2 separate regions of the Homo sapiens genome follow, and region 1 is linked to region 2. The links are contacts of gene promoters, found by promoter capture Hi-C in human tissues and cell types (Jung and others, 2019). All regions are on one chromosome and are shown on one strand. Each heading gives the region's core, a stretch centred on a gene start or on the middle of the fragment in contact. The rest is flanking DNA. Distances are from core to core; before and after follow the strand shown.

Region 1 (2,700 bases), core at 86-2,585, 270 kb before region 2:
TCTACCCAGAAGTGGAGTTGCTGGATCATATGGTAATTTTATGTTTAATTTTTGAGAAATCATCATCCTGTTTTCCATAGGACTACACCATTTTACATTCCCACTAGTAATACACAAGGATTCCAGTTTCTCTATATCCTTGCCAACACTTGTTATTCTGTTTTTTTAATTGTAGCCATTCTAATGGATGTAAAGGGATATCACCCAGTGGTTTTGATTTGCATTTCCCACATAATTAGTGAAGTTGAGCATTTTTTCCTATTATTGGCCACTTGTATATCATCTTTGAAGACATGTCTATTCACATCCTTTTCCCACTTATTAAAATAGGTTGTTTTCTATTTCATTTTTCACTCTTAAATAGCAATTTTACCCATATACAGGTGGTCATTTATTCTGGCAATCTTCCACTGTGTCCCCAGGCAGCGATCTGAAACATTTTTAACTTCTCACTTTATTCAGGTCATAAAAATCTTGCTGAACCTGGTAACACTTAAATTACTGCCCAAAATGTTCAATGTAAACTATCAGAACTGTACTGAAAAGCTTTTCCACAACTCTCCAACACAGCCTAACAATGTCGATTGCAAAAAAGAAGTCCAATTTATTCTCAAATCCAAGCACACTCTCATGTCCTCTATTCCCATTAAGCTTGCTTCATCTGCTTCTTTGTTTCAATTCAAAATGGCTTCTTGAACCAGTTATAGGTACTATGCCCTTAAAATTAATTCCCAATGTCACTCCACCTCTAGGCTGACATCATTTTTCTGAACTTCACCAGCATTTGCTATCCATGCTTCCCATGTTGATACACTTACTTTTTGAGTAGCCTTCCATGAAATAGACATGATTGATGCACAAAGGCTAATACTTTTAACATTTAATGCCATTGTCCTCTCCATCCAAATACAATCTCCGTTCTTTTGAATTTATCTCAGCAAATATTTAAAGCATCCTTTTAAAATACTGTGAAATATTCTTTTCTGCCCATTTTCAGAAAATCAGTAATTTCTGTATCCTAAATACAAAAATCCTAATCCTATATCTTAAATACAATGGTTTCCTCATGCTAAACATTGATATAATGAAGATTAAGAAAGTACAAAGTAATCAGCAGAGTGTATGCAAAGTGAATCATTCTATGGAGTAGACATTAAACAACATACAAAAACAATGGAGCAGAGCATGAGTGATGAAAACTATTCAGGTATATTTTTAAATTGGAAATATGTGGCCATGAGGACAATATCACTGAAAAGAATTTGTTAATCCTACACAGTAGGAAATAGAACTGCCTGTTTTTATCATATCTACTGAGGAAAAAAGAAACAAAATAGCCATGTTTGGGGTCATAAAATCTGTCAGTATCTTGACTAAACTCAAAAACCTGAAATCAACATATCTCACTGGGAACAAAATTGTCTAAATATGAGAAAATGGGGATCTAGTTTGTTGTAATACCACTGGGATTAAGAAAAAGGGTCACTTTTTTCTTAATTAAAACAAGAAAAACTGGTAAGAATTCCAAAGTAATAAATTAAATTAGAGGACTGTGTTTCTGAGCCCAGAAACAGAAAAATCTCACAAAATTTATCAGGTGAGAATTCCTTATTTGGATGATGATGATTCCAATTTCTGATCTCCCAAAATTAAGGAAGTGAGTCATCTCATGGGAACTGTCCTCCGTGGAGCTAAGTAAGGTAGCAGAACACAGTTTAAGCACAGGGACTAGAGGTACTGATATATAAATCATTAGAATAAAAATATGAGGACTAAGAGTTCAGAATGGATGGGTCCTTTAAGTCAATTCCTGTGGGAAAAGATGCCCATAGCCGGGCACGGTGGCTCACGCCTGTAATCTCAGCACTTTGGGAGGCCAAGCCAGGCGGAACACCTGAGGTCGGGAGTTCGAGACCAGCCTGACCAACAAGGAGAAACCCCGTCTCTACTAGAAATACAAAATTAGCCGGGCATGGTGGTGCATGCCTGTAATCACAGCTACTTGGGAGGCTGAGGCAGGAGAATCACTCAAACCTGGGAGGCGGAGGTTGCGGTGAGCCAAGATCGTGCCATTGCACTCCAGCCTGGGCAACAAGAGTGAAACTCTGCCTCAAAAAAAAGAAAAGATGCCCATATGGAAGAACAGGGCCCCAAGCTAGAGGTGCCACAACTGGGAGGAAAAGAAGACAGCAGATCCAGCAAAGAAAAGAAAATAAATAAAATTAGGGGCAAAAAAACTGGAAAAAAAAGGCAGAAAACTCCATGGACGTAAAGAGATAAGCGGTAAGAAAATGCAACAAACAAATGAAAAAGCCAATCAGATAACAGATAAGATGAGAGGCTCTCACCATTCAGTTATTAGAAAAATAACACTTAAGCAATGAAACAGGCTGGGTGCGGTGGCTCACGCCTATAATTCCAGCACTTTGGGAGGCCGAGGTGGGCAGATCACAAGGTCAGGAGATCGAGACCATCCTGGCTAACAGGGTGAAACCCTGTCTCTACTAAAAATACAAAAAATTAGCCGAGTGTGGTGGCGGGTGCCTGTAGTCCCAGCTACTCGGGAGGCTGAGGCAGGAGAATCACTTGAACCCAGGAGGCAGAGGTTGCAGTAAGCCAAGATCGTGCCACTGCACCCTAGCCTAGGTGACAGAGTGAGACTCTGTCTCAAAAAAACCAAAACCAAAAACAAAAAAAAAT
Region 2 (2,700 bases), core at 2-2,501:
TTTTCTTAGGGGGAAATCTAGGAATCTCCTTGACCACCCCCTGCCTGCCAGGCCCTACTGGGGAGACTCAAGGTCCAGCTATCTAACCTCAGTGCAGAAACCTGCCCCTGGCCCTCTCCCCAACTGGGAGGGCCGGGCCGGGCCGGGGTTAACCCTTCAACCTGCTTTAACCCTTCCCTTCCGTCTTTCCTTCATCCTCCCATGCCCATCGCTCTTCCACTGTCCAGCCCCACGAACCTAGACATTCAATCAGAGCTTGGGAATCCAAGACCCCAGCCCAGCACCCCAACTTCCTGTATCTCCAGCTCCCTTCTCCCCCACATAACTGCAACCTCCCCAAGTACCAACACTTTCTCTCAACCTAGATGACCCTGCTGGGGGATTTCAGACCCTTCCCCTCTTTTCCTGACCCTGGGACTAGGTCTGTGGACACCCTTGTCCCCTCCTCTTACTGACCCTGGGAAGGCATCCATCCCCTGACCTCTGTCCCGAGATGACTACCCCAGCCCCCGGCAAGGACCTCTTCAGGGACCCTCTCCACGTACAGATGAAGACCCCTAACAGGGCATTATCCCCTGCCCCCCACCCCAACTCAGTTCGGAGATCCGACCCGGGGACCCCGAGTCCAGTGTCTGCCCCCTCCTCAACAGGAGCCGCAGACTCCTGCCCCCAGGCAGGGCTAGGTGTCTGCGACCCTCTTGCCTGCTCGGGGAAGCAGACCTCCGCCCCTAGACCCGGCTCCGGCCCGAGGACGCCGACCCCTGCCCCGGGGCGCGGACCCCCACGTCCGAGGTCCCCCTGCCCAGCCAGGGAATGCAGACCCCACCCCCGGGCCCAGACCCCGGCGTCCCGGGGCCTCCCCGCGCCGGCCCAGGGATGCAGCCCTCGACCCCCACCCCTGATCCCCCGATTACCCACCCAAGACCCTGGCGTCCCGGCCGAGCCCCCCGCCCCCGGCGCTGCGGTACCTCGGCTGATGACGGCCAAGCCGGCCAGGGCGGCGGCGGCGAGAAGCCGGAGCCGGGCCCCGGGCGCAGGGGGGGGCATCGCGGCAGAGGCGGCGCGGAGGGGGAGGGGAAAGGGGGGGCCGGTCCGGGGCGCGCGAGGCCTGGGGGGAGAGGGGGGAGGGGGAGGGGGACCCCGCCTGCGCTGCACCGGCCCGGGGGGCGGCGGGGGCGGGGGGAGGGGGCTGGGGGGGCGCGACGAGGCGGCTGGAGCTGCTGCAGACCCGGGGAGGGGGGCGGCGCTGACGGGCAGGGAGACCGGCCAATCAGGAGAGGTGGGGGGCCGGGGAGGCGGGGTCAAGGGGGGGTTGCTTGTTGGAGGGAGAGGCCTTTGTTACTGCGGCCCGGCCCCTACCCCTCCCGCCCCAGGCGTCCCCACGTCTTTCCACCACATCCGCAGAACACGGAGTCTGGGATACTTCCTAAAACCCAGCTCCCTCCTCCTTCAAGTCCCAATCTCATCCTCCCATGGACCTAGGAGACTAGCCCCAGTCCCTCCTCTCTCAGACCCAGGAGCCCAGGTCCCCAGCCCCTCCTCCCTCAGACCCTGGAGTCCAGGCCCCCAGCCCCTCCTCCCTCAGACCCAGGAGTCCAGGCCCCCAGCCCCTCCTCCCTCAGACCCAGGAGTCCAGGCCCCCAGCCCCTCCTCCCTCAGCCCAGGAGTCCAGGCCCCCAGCCCCTCCTCCCTCAGACCCAGGAGTCCAGGCCCAGCCCCTCCTCTCTCAGACCCTGGAGCCCAGGCCCCCAGCCCCTCCTCCCTCAGACCCAGGAGTCCAGGCCCCCAGCCCCTCCTCCCTCAGACCCTGGAGCCCAGGCCCCCAGCCCCTCCTCCCTCAGACCCAGGAGTCCAGGCCCCCAGCCCCTCCTCCCTCAGACCCAGGAGTCCAGGCCCCCAGCCCCTCCTCCCTCAGACCCTGGAGCCCAGGCCCCCAGCCCCTCCTCCCTCAGACCCAGGAGTCCAGGCCCCCAGCCCCTCCTCCCTCAGACCCAGGAGTCCAGGCCCCCAGCCCCTCCTCCCTCAGACCCTGGAGCCCAGGCCCCCAGCCCCTCGTCCCTCAGACCCAGGAGTCCAGGCCCCCAGCCCCTCCTCCCTCAGACCCAGGAGTCCAGGCCCCCAGCTCCTCCTCCCTCAGACCCTGGAGTCCAGGCCCCCAGCCCCTCCTCCCTCAGAGCCAGGAGTCCAGGTCCCCAGCCCCTCCTCCCTCAGGCCCAGGAGTCCAGGTCCCCAGTTCCTCCTCCCTCAGACCTAGGAGTCCAGGCCCCCAGCCCCTCCTCCCTCAGACCCAGGAGTCCAGGTCCCCAGTCCCTCCTCCCTCAGACCCTGGAGTCCAGGCCCCCAGCCCCTCCTCCCTCAGACCCTGGAGTCCAGGCCCCCAGCCCCTCCTCCCTCAGACCCAGGAGTCCAGGCCCCCAGCCCCTCCTCCCTCAGACCCAGGAGTCCAGGCCCCCAGCCCCCTCCTCCCTCAGACCCAGGAGGCCAGGCCCCCAGGCCCCTCTTCCTGTGGGCCACAGTTCAGCTTTTCCATCTATTTTCATGGATAACGAAAACACTGACTTTTGGAGTGAAATTTGCTTTTTTCCTCCACCCCAACCCTCATCCCCAGTATAATAAGGCAATGGGAAGGGATTGGGGGACTTATCTTGGGGGAGCAGGTGGGGAGGAAACCATAATCCAGGGTTTAGGTGCAAAACATCC

Evidence for each region. Contacts are between HindIII fragments. The study calls those that stand out against the background at their distance.
Region 1: a contact is called between a fragment that was not itself captured here and the fragment with the promoter of IGLON5 in region 2, in 2 of the 25 tissues and cell types used here (adrenal gland and dorsolateral prefrontal cortex).

What each region holds. Positions count from the first base shown.
Region 1 is chr19:51,582,285-51,584,984 of GRCh38, reverse strand. The region is part of intron 4 of ZNF175 (zinc finger protein 175); the gene reads right to left. Among named protein-coding and RNA genes, the nearest start is that of LINC01530, 11 kb to the left of the region's middle. The HindIII fragment of the contact is 5,405 bases long and covers 1-2,700 here.
Region 2 is chr19:51,310,195-51,312,894 of GRCh38, reverse strand. IGLON5 (IgLON family member 5) reads right to left here and starts at 1,251. Exons shown (of 8, transcript NM_001101372.3): 1 at 969-1,251. The coding sequence starts at 1,047. The HindIII fragment of the contact is 18,731 bases long and covers 1-2,700 here.